Linked DNA regions of Homo sapiens: region 2 is linked to region 1. The links are contacts of gene promoters, found by promoter capture Hi-C in human tissues and cell types (Jung and others, 2019). All regions are on one chromosome and are shown on one strand. The core of a region is centred on a gene start or on the middle of the fragment in contact, and the rest is flanking DNA. Distances in the headings are between cores, read along the strand shown.

Region 1 (5,568 bases), core at 1,917-4,416:
TGCTGAAATTATTTCCCACTGGTGGAGTACTTTTTTTCTTTCTAGTGCGATGACATGCTACGGCACACCATCTTATTGTTTGTGAAATCAATACTTAAGTTGATTCAGGAAAAGTGTATGAAACGAATTTCAAACATCTTTTAGGGGCAATTCACTACAATTGCCCCTAAAACCAGTTATAAGATAAAACCAGGATTTGGATAACAATGATGGACAATATTGTCATTGTCATCCAAATCTTGGTTTTATCTTATAACTTAATTCAGAATGTTATTTGATGCCTATTTAATGGCTAGGGTTGCTATGTTTCTTAAATACTCATATTGTTTTTCTAACGGTAATACCATAAATCTAAGCCTGTATTTTTCTTTTTACAACTGATATAAAGTGCATTATGATATTTTAACTATTTATCTTCCTCTGAGAACTGCTGGTTCTTCTATGCTGCATAAATATCTCTTAAGGTAATTTGTAACCTAGTATTTTGAAGATTCCAAATACACATTTGAAAATACTATTTTCCTGGATTCTAACTAAGTTGCAATACGTTGAATTAACTCAAAGAAAACAACTCTCCATATGCAATAAGCTATTTGATTATATGATTATCAACACCTATACAAGGGAAGAATAGCGTTAACTGAAAAAATTATTTTTACTAATGGTTGTTTTTTAAATGCTTTTTTGTATGTTGACTTCAATATGGGTTTGTTTGAAATTGTGTAGTTTCACATGTCAGATATAATAAAGCAGCTTCAGTGAAAAGATTCAACCGACGAGAAGCTACAAGTTCCTCAACTTGCCCACATTCGCATTCCCACATTTCCAATTTGTTCCCCCGCTTCTTTAGGCAGTACCTAGCCTCGGCACGGCTGCTTCCTCTTCTTTTTTTTTTTTTTTTTGGCACGGCTGCTTCCTCTTCTTCTTTTCTTTTTTTTTTTTTTTTTTTTTTTTTTTTTTTTTTTTTTTTTTTTGGGACGGAGTCTCACTCTGTCGCCCGGGCTGGAGTCCAGCGACGCGATCTCGGTTCGGTTCACTGCAACCTCCGCCTCCCGGATTCAAGCCATTCTCCTGCCTCAGCCTCCCGAGTAGCTGGGAATACAGGCGCCCGCCATTACGCCCGGCTAATATTTGTATCTTTAGTAGACACGGGGTTTCACTATGTTGGCCAGGCTGGTCTGGAACTCCTGACCTCGTGATTCGCCCCCTTCGGCCTCCCAAACTGCTGGGATTACAGGCGTGAGCCACCGTGCCGGGCCCTCTCTCTTCTATTTAAAAGGATAGGCACAGCCTTTGGAACTGAATGTCTTTCCTCAGGCCTCATAATAGAAAATGAGGAAAGTCCATTCTGACAACTGGCTGCCTTAGGCAACAGAATTTGGGATTCCTACCCTTCCAGCTCCTGTTGAGTCAAAGGCAAAGGCAATAACCCAATAAATGTGGTGAGACAGTAAATGGAAACTGACATAAAAATAGCAATAAAAGCCTACTTCCTTCTTGACAATCAATACATAATGGAATGGGTATGATTTTACACCATAAAACATCAGAGAATAATAGAATATGGGCTGAAGAAAGCTCAGAAGCCACAACATTTTCCCCACCTTTTGATTTTCAAAACGATTCTTAAGATTTGTCGGGAGTATTTGTTTTCAATTGTTTCAGTGAGGCTCAGTTTTGACCACATGCAACCAAAATAGAGAATTTCATGGAGGATGGTCACAGGATTGGCTTAGAAAAATGTAATCCTGTGAGCTGTCCCCTTTCATAAATAATAAGGTTCCGACGGCTGCACCGAATGTTCCTCCTTTCAACGAGGTTGGGCCGAGGTTGGGCTCCCAGCTGCTGGGACATTTTTAGTCCATCTTGGACTCTCACCTCTGCCTCCTGCTCAGCTGTCAGAATGCCAGGCGGCTCTGCAGCCCAAAGCCCACTCCGTTTTAAACTTGCTCGTTTGCAATCACGTAACCCGCTACTGACGACAGAACCCTCAAGGCCCATTTATATGCGGTTCTCAAGTTTAGGTCTAGGGAAGTTTCCAGGAAGCTTAGTGTTCGGGGAGGAATTCGTTTTGCTTTTGCTAATCAAAGAGACACAAAAGCACAGCTGAGTCCCGAAGCTGGCACACGGGAAATCGAGGTACCACTGTCCCCTCACCGGAGCGCGCAACAATCACTTGGGGAGCGGGGAAAAGGTTTCCACCTTCCCCGAGCCTGGGGCACCTTCGCTCCCACCGCCCCAGCTGGTGGTGGTCTCGACACCACGCTCGTTGCGGGGTCACACGCCAGAGCTGGAAAGGGGAGGTCCAGCCCCAAGTAAAGCGACAAAGTAAGGACACAGTGGTGGCCAAGGGCTGTCTCCTAACCCCAGTCCCGAAAGACAGTGTGGAAAGTCCGCCGGCGCGCCAGCCCTTGAAACTCTGCCGGTCCGGCCGCGGCCCCTCCCCTGCGCGTCCCCACCTGTTGTGAAGCTGCCCAAGCTCCTTCTTGCCCAAATGCTTTGGAAACTGCCAAAGGACACTCAGAGGCCAGGGAATGTAACAGGCAAGCATAAATATGCAGAAGAGATGGAACCAAAATAGCGGGCAGGCAGGGCCGGCGCTCGTGGGGGTCGGTGATCTGGAGCCGGGCCCCCGCCGCCGCGGCCGCGCCAGCAGTGCCAAGACCTGGCGGGCGGCGCCGGCGCACTCCGGGCACCGAGTCTGCAAAAGAGGCCCTGAGCGGACCGCCGGACACCTCGCAGACTGCGGGCAGCGGTGGTGGCGGCCGCCTCTCCGGGGCTCCACGGCCGACCCGCCGCCCGCCGCCGCCATCCCCGGCCCGCTCCTGCCGGGTCCCCGACTCGAGCCCCGGAGGCGCCCGCTCTGCGGGACCGCGCAGCCCGGCTGCATGGAGCCCGGCGCGGTGCCCCGGCCGGCCGAGCCAGCCACGGCGCGAGAAACCGTCGCCCGCCACGGCGAGGGCAGGAAGAAGATGGCGGCTACCGTGGCGGCGGCGGCGGCGGCAGCGGCCTCACACGCGTCGCTGACGCCAATGGCTCGCGCCGGTCGGCGGGCCGCGGATGGCGGCGGCGGCGGCGGCGGCTCGGGCTCCGGCGAGGGGCGGGGCGAGGCGGGGAGGGGGCCGGCCGGAGGCAGAGGCTGGAGGGAGGCGGCGGGGACAGTTTGTTGTGCTCGGAACATGGCGGGCGTCGGCGACGCGGCCGCTCCGGGAGAAGGCGGCGGTGGCGGCGTGGACGGCCCGCAGCGGGACGGCCGCGGCGAGGCGGAGCAGCCGGGCGGCAGCGGCGGACAGGGGCCCCCGCCGGCGCCTCAGCTCACAGAGACGCTGGGCTTCTACGAGAGCGACCGGCGGCGGGAGAGGCGCCGGGGCCGCACAGGTGAGGCGGGCGGCGCTAGGCCGTGGCGGGCTCCGAGGGGCGGACTGGGGACCGAGGGCGGCGGGGGCGCCTTGGAACCCCGGCCCCCGAGCCGCGCGGCTGCCGTTGCCTCCCGGGGCTCCCCAGGCTGTGGGCGCGCGGAGCCGCCGAGGCTGCCGAGGCTCCGCGGCCGTTGACAGTTCCTCGGGCGGGTTGCGCGCGCAGCCCCGAGGCCCCCGCGGCCGCGCCAGGCCAGGTGTGCCCTAGAAGGGGTCTGCGGCCGGGAAAGTTCTGTCCGGGTCCTTGCATCGCCCTCGGAAGGTCTTAGGTTAGCGGGCATCTCCCACGTCTCGGAGCCCAAACGTGAGAAGCACACGGCTGATTTCTTAATTATATTCATGCCAAGGTGACTTTTTTTGTTCTGTATTTTAAGCAAACTTGAGCCATAGAAACCTGTTAACTTGCCCTGCAAGTAGATTTTTCACAGACAGCTGACGGTGTGGTAGTGACCATGAAGTTCAGTAGTTTTGCCCAGTACAGAAATATTTAACACTCCATAAAATGTTGCATCTGAACTTTTCCTGAACTGAAACTTATGCCAAAAAAATTACTAGATGAGAAAATGTGTACTTATGAATCCTACATTCAATGACCAGTTTTAAACGTATTGTTACAATGTTACAGTTTCTATAAGCTGTAGGTTTTTATTCTCATTTTAAAAGAATTTTTAAAACTTGCATTTGTATTCATATTGCAGTTACAGATTAGTTTTAAATGAAAAAAGGTTTTGAGATGGATGTCTTCTTGAATATAGAGTGAACCCAACGTTTTAATTCTCAAGCTGTAAACAGCAACTGAACCATAACTCCATTAAATTTCTTCCAACTAAAAAATTACTTCTGTTGTCCAAAAGGGGCTGTGTTAGCCGTTATTTCCTGAAGTTCATGCAAATAACTAAGTTGTGAGGCTGATTACATCATTGATTGTACTTGAGTACTGAAATTTTAAAACTACTTAAGGGGCATAAAGTTGATCAGATGCGATTCTAATTGATTTGCTGATTCCCAGAACTGGACGTAGGTTCTATTTGAAGCAGTCTATATTTTTGGAAAATTACAGACGGTCTTGTTTGGTCTTTTTCAATTAACCACTTAAAAATTCTCAACCATACTTTATTTGGTTTAGTTCTCAGTTAAACATTTGCTTTCAAGAGTATTTACTTTCTTCATTGGCAGGATCTCAGTAAGACAAAATAGCAAATCTCTCAACTGTCTGTTTACTTACTTAGACTTGAATATTAAAAGCACTCTGTTGTAAATAGAGATAGATGTAGCCAGGCTTCACTATACTTTCTTTAAAACATTTCTCAGTTGCAGGAAAGCCACCATTTTAAAAGCCTTTTTTTGTTGTTTGCGTGGAGAGGAAATGAAGTTGTTTGAAGCCTATTGATGAGCACAGATCTTGAGCTTGCAGTATCACTTAACACTTCTTCCCTGGCTTTTTCTGGGACTGGATACCTGGACTTCCATGGACTTCATTATACCACGTATCCATTCTTCACCAACATGGTTCACCATGTTTAAGGCTGGATTTTTTTTAACCCATAGTTGCAGGAAGTCATTATCAGGGAGATGCCTCCAGGTTTAGCTGTTGGGGTAGTCCTTGTTCTTTCCCCAGTTCCATTGATTTTGTGTGAGGAGATGTCAGTGGCCACTCCTGCTTTACCAAGTCACACTAGCCTTGGCGATCAGGATTTAGGTGAGAATTCCAAATTCCAGGAGTATTTCAGCTGGAGCCACTGGCCAGTGTTCTCTCTGAGCCTCCACATAAGCCCCTCCTTCTTTTCCCCTGGTGTCCCTGCTCTGCTAGTCACATAGCTCCTGCCACTGCTAGCACCCAGTCTGTAGCTCCGATAACCATATTTGTTAGAGGTTTCCCCACTAGAAACAATTATTTTAGTCCTTCTTCAATGCCCAGGCTGCTAAGTCTAGCGCTGCCCTCTTCCCCTGCTCTGTAATCCTTCCTTCCCCTCCTTTTAAGAATTTTTAAAAACGATTCCCTAGGAGCTGGCCTGGGTCAGAGGGCCTTTGAGTGGCAGCACCTGGAGTCATTTGGATAGCATTTCTCCCTGAATCAAACTAGTCCTCCACGGCTAGATGCTCGGACTTAAGGTATTACTTGTTGATTTTTTTATATTCTTGTGTGCCTCTG
Region 2 (5,568 bases), core at 1-2,500, 1.3 Mb before region 1:
GAACTGTGCACGTTGGACTTCTCTTAAGGCTCTGCCACTTACTGTGACACGTTCGGCAAGTTACTTCGCCTTTCTGAGTCTGCGTTTTGTCATCTGTAAAATAAGATAAAATAGTGTCTCCTTTATATATATGGTGGTTGTACCTTGTAAATGTCTCAATGGATCTAAATGGATGAGAAAGGTATTACAGAGAGTCAATAGTAAGTGTGAGCCATTATTATTATTTACTCCAGGCTTATTTCTGCCCAGCTGTTCTGCCTCAGATGTTAATGAATTTGTTCATCTTTAACCTCTTAAGTTAGATTTTGTTAAGCTATTAATAATTTGAGTCATGAGATCTTTTAAGTATGCTGCAGACCTCAGAAAAATCTGGGGAAATAGATCTACAATTTGAAAGTAAATGATGAATCAGGCTTAGTAGTCCCTCAAACTCAAGAAGATTTGTTTGCACATCAGAAGTTTTTCACTTGGAAGGATACTGAGAAAACCTCACCCTCCTATTTCCAAGTTTGTATTTCTAGACTGTCTTCTGTAGGACAAACAGTATTAAAATGGTGTTCACTTTTGTTTACCATTAAAGGATCTGTGCTGTGATTGGAAATCAGTTTTGGGGGACCACACTGATCATTCAGTAATTTGGAAGTGTTGACCTTCTTAGTGAAATGTCTTTTTTTTCATATCTTGCAAATAACCCCTTTTGTGTCCCCAAGGAAAGGTCATTCTTTAGAATTAAGCCATTACGGTTGCTATTTGCTTGTTTCTTTCCTTTGTCAGAGTCCCTGCTCTTGTGTTGTGTTGTTCGAATGGAGTCAAGAGAGAGCTCTGGGATTTTGAGGACCAGGGCTGGGTTAATGAGCACTTATGCCCTGGTTTATTTTAATCACTGAAGAGTTTGTTATGCCCCCTGATTAAACAGAGAAGCTAAGGATGGCGAAATATTCTTCTTGTGCTTCCAAATAGCTCTTTGAGACCTTGACCCTCTTTTGCAATTTGAGGTAGTTGTTGAAGCAGTTTTGTGATTGGTCCCTTGGCTGGGCTGTCATCCCCCCACCTCCCGCTGGACTTGCGATGCCTCCACAGCAATTACATCTTAAACAGTGTGTGTGCCGAGGATTTTAGGGAGCCTGATGACCTCTAGAAGAAATAGTGGTTTTCAGAAGGTGGAGAAGTTTACAGTGACTCATCATTCCTTCTTGCTATCATTATTCTGTGATAGCAGCATTTAGTGAGCAGCTACAGTTGGGCACAGTGGGGGAACATAAAGAGGAAAGACTCCATTCCTGCCACATGCCTGCGGGGCAGAGGGAAACCTACCTTAATAAAAGACATCCCTTGCTTCTGTCAGCAAATATCCATCGAATAGTGGGAGGAAAGGAAGACCAATAGGTAGCAGGTATACACAATGTCAAAATTTGCTCAAATGGTACACCCTAAATGTGTTTAAGTTTATTGTGTTTCAGTTATACCTCAACAGACTTGGCGAAAAAGAAAGAAATATTTTTAGGCATCTGTCTTCTGGGTGCTTGGCTTGTTGGGCTAAGCTTGATCTTATTTCATCACCAGAGGTATCTGTAAAGTAGGTCCTATTATTTTCCCTTGATTATGGAGGAAAAAAAGTTCAGTGATTTTAGGTGCCTTGTCTAAGACAACCTAGCTAGTTAGTAGCAGATTGGTCTGAGTAATACATTGATCAGTAATTAATATATAATTATAATCAGTAATTATAGCAATTACTGATAATATAATTATATAGAGATAATATAATTATATTCAGAGCCTCCTCCGGCAGCAAGGGTGCGGGTGGTGTGAGTGTGAGACCGGGCTACATTACGGTCTAAGCGGAGTGCTCTTGGTGGGGGTGAGTCCACCTCTGAAAAGGTTTTGTTGAGGGAGCTGATTCAAACAGGGTCTTGGAAAAGGACTTGCTTTGACAAATAGAGCTTATGGGAAAAGACAAGGCACTGTATTAGTTTTTATTTAAATAATTTAATCAGTTTTTAAATTGGAAAACTAACCAATGCATGTAGTAAAAATTCACATGGCACTAAAAGAAACACAATGAATAGGAAGACTCTCTCCTACTCACACCGCTGATCTCTATGGCACTCCCTCCCAGGCCCAACTACAGTGATGGCTTCTCAGGTGTCCTTTGGGAAGCATTCTGTGCCCATTCTAGTGTGTGCCCATGTCACATTCACATACTTTTTAAAAAGCACCATAATTTGGCAGGGCGCGATGGCTCATGCCTGTAATCCCAGCACTTTGGGAGGCCACAGCGGGTGGTTCACCTGAGTTCGAGACCAGCCTGGCCAACATGGTCAAACCCCATCTCTACTAAAAAATACAAAAATAACCAGCTGTTGTGGCAGTCACCTGTAATCCCAGCTACTCAGGAGGCTGAGGCAGGAGAATCGCTTGAACCTGGGAGGCGGTGGTTGCAGTGAGCCGAGATTGCGCCACTGCACTCCAGTCTGGGTGACAGAGTGAGACTCTGTCTCCAAACAAACAAAAAAAGAGGCTGAGGTGGGAGGATTGCTTGAGCCCTGGAGGTGAAGGATGCAGTGAGCTGAGATTGCACCATTGCACTCTAGCCTGGGCAACAGAGTAAGCTTGTCTCAAAAAAAAAAAAAGAAAAGCACCATAATTTGATGACTCGATAGAGGCTTTTCCATGCCTTATTCTTTTCACTTCATCATAGATTAAATAATTTAAAAGTTAGTTTGTCTGGAATATTGAGAAACTCACGAGTTACTGAGAATCACCTACCATAGTTTTAATGAACAGAGCTACCAGTTTGTTCTTTTTTTTTTTTTTTTTTTTTTTTTTTTTTGAGACAGTTTTGCCCTTATTGCCCAGGCTGGAGTGCAATGGCGCAATCTTGGCTCACCGCAACGTCTGACTCCTGGTTCAAGCAATTCTGCTGCCTCAGCCTCTGGAGCAGCTGGGATTACAGGCATGCATCACCACCCCCAGCTAACTTTGTATTTTTAGTAGAGACGGAGTTTCCCCACGTTGGTCAGGCTGGTCTTGAACTTCTGACCTCAGGTGATCCACCTGCCTTGGCCTCCCAAAGTGCTGGGATTACAGGCGTGAGCCACCGCACCTGGCCCCAGTTTGTTTTTTCATTCCCACAGTTTTTGAGTGGCCACCATTTGATTAAGCCCCATTATCCTCCTTTGAGAAACCCACCTATTGCTCTTTTCTGAAAGCAGTGAATAAAGTATTTATTTATTTATTTATTTATTTATTTTCCTTTTTTTTGGAGATATGGTCTGGCTCTGTCACCCAGGCTGGAGTGCAGTGGCGTGATCTTGGCTCACTGCAGCCTCGACCTCCCGGGGGCTCCAGCCGTCTTTCCACCTCAGCCTACCGGGTAGCTGAGACTACAGGCGCTCGCCATCACACCTGGCTAATTTCTGTATTTTTTGTGGAGACAGGGTTTCACCATGTTGCCCAGGCTGGTTTCAAACTCCTGGGCTCAAGAGATCCACTTGCCGCAGCCTCCCAAAGTGCTAGGATTACAAGCCTGAACTACCTCACCTGGCCAAATAAAGTATTTATTGATTGCCACCTTTTGGTTTGGGATACATTGGTGAACAAAACAATAAAAATCCCTGCCTCTGTGGAACTTACATTCTTCTGGGAATGAAAGAGCCCTTTCGAGTTTATGAGATGTGTCACGTTTCATGTCGTTTTCAGGAAAGCCTATTTAGCTTAGCATTGGATCCCATTTAGCAGGGAAGAACCAGAGGCTGAAAGAGCTGCTCGCCCAAGTCACAGTGGTGAGGAATCACCTGGGTTCCAACCCCTGGCCTCGAAGTCCAGATTCTGGGTTCTTTCTGGTGTGCTGTGCCGTTCCTGGGAGCCAGGGAGCTGCCTTGTGCTTCTTCGTCTTTCTAACACTGAGCCTAGGGATTCCCACATAGAAGAGGCTCCATGACATGGGGTGGGGTAAGTGGGTTTTGATGCCCGGGAGCAGGCAGACCCTGGCAGCCCCTTTCCAGGCTCTGGCTTTACAGGCAGCAGAGTGATGGCAGGTTGGTTTGATGGTGTTAAGGCCAGAGTTGTCACCATCCCCGTCATGCCACAGTCCTTCCACTGCTGATAAGGAAGGAAATGCCCCGGATGGGCCGCAGATGACTGCTTGATCTGGAGAGGAATCATCTATGATAATATGAATAATGATGAGCTGGGAGAGTGGGAGAAGCATCACCCCCTCCCTGCCGCAGTCACTGGGAGAACATCTCCCTGGCAAGGTGCTGAGCAAAGCCCCTCCTACACCAGGCTGGGCTCCCTCCGCCCTGATCGGGTTCTGTGCGTGCCCTCCATGGTTTCCAAGGCCCTTGTTGGATGCAGTCTCCTTCCATCCTCAGCAGAGCCTTGTGAATAAATTGTGATCTGAGTTACCACTCCCACTGACAGATGGAAAAGCAGGCCCACAGAACCTGTGATTTTTTTTGGTGGCTGGAAAAACAGGAGTTAGGGCTGCACTTTTTGAATTCCAAGTTGATGACCCTTTTTGCAATTCCTTATTGCTGTCCGAGGAAAAAGAGTTGCCAGTGACCTGCTGAGAGTCATGAATGACAATAATGGCCAGGATTGAGTGTTCCTCTGTGCTCAGTACTGTACAAAGGGGATTTGTTAACCTGGAAAAAAAACAATCAATGGAGTTTTATTACTTGACATAATTAAGGAGGATGCTGGAAGTATTCTCCAAAGCAGCGTCTCTCCCAGGAGGGTTTCATGGGGTGATGGAGAGGGGAAAGGGTGTGTCATTGCATGTGGAGGAGGGGTCCCAGTGGCACAGATGCAGTGAGTCATCACGCCAGCACATAGTCACATGTTCTGGTGATGAAGCTGTAGCTCCTCCCGGGTGGAGACTGTAGCATGGTAATGAGGAAAGTCCACTTGGGATCATCTCTATAAGTTGCTGGTTTCACCTGACTTGGTGACTGCATTCCATGCAAGTTGTGGGAAAAACCAGGCTGAAGGGCAGGAGCCTGTGAAACAGGCTGATTGTTCAAGCTGATGAAACTCCTATAGTCCTTGGAGACCCTCCCTGTCTGCTACACTTGTACATGGTATTTTATTTGATTGTTGTATTATCCTTAGGATTTGGGATTGTCATTCCCATTTCACGAAATGGGAAACTGAGGATTCCAAGGTTTAGTAGCCTCTCCCAGTGTCAGTCACTAGCAAGCAGCAGAGCCTGGACACGAAGCCAGGTAGTCGGGTTCCAGGGCACATTACTTCTATTGATTTGATGGGAAACCTTCATTGAGTGCCTGTCCTGTGCTAAGGGTATGCTCACAATTAAGTACTCTATTCCTGTGTGTCGTTATGAGCCCCTCTGGATCACACCTGAGTTTATACTGATAAGGTGATTAGTAGGTTGGGGCCCCTAGACAGCCTCAGGATGGAGCTACTTCTTAGAATGACCAAGCAATTAGGAGGTTAGAACTTTCAGCTCCACCTACCGACCTCCTGGAAGGAAGCAGGGGCTGGAGATTAAGCTCTATAAAAACTTACAGATGTGATAAGCATCTGGGTTGAACACATGGAGGGCAC

What was found. The method cuts DNA at HindIII sites, captures the fragments that hold promoters and counts their contacts. A contact is called where the count stands out against the background at its distance.
Region 2: a contact is called between a fragment that was not itself captured here and the fragment with the promoter of TAPT1 in region 1, in 1 of the 25 tissues and cell types used here (dorsolateral prefrontal cortex).

The regions. Positions count from the first base shown.
Region 1 is chr4:16,224,069-16,229,636 of GRCh38, reverse strand. TAPT1 (transmembrane anterior posterior transformation 1) reads left to right here and starts at 3,166. Exons shown (of 14, transcript NM_153365.3): 1 at 3,166-3,378. The coding sequence starts at 3,180. It overlaps TAPT1-AS1 (TAPT1 antisense RNA 1), which reads right to left and starts at 2,974. Exons shown (of 3, transcript NR_027697.1): 1 at 2,460-2,974. RefSeq lists an enhancer at 2,054-2,113 and silencers at 2,624-2,823, 2,884-2,953, 2,964-3,063, 3,074-3,123, 3,234-3,613. The HindIII fragment of the contact is 8,869 bases long and covers 1-5,568 here.
Region 2 is chr4:17,493,705-17,499,272 of GRCh38, reverse strand. The region is part of intron 4 of QDPR (quinoid dihydropteridine reductase); the gene reads left to right. Among named protein-coding and RNA genes, the nearest start is that of QDPR, 16 kb to the left of the region's middle. RefSeq lists an enhancer at 4,773-5,067. The HindIII fragment of the contact is 5,887 bases long and covers 1-4,193 here.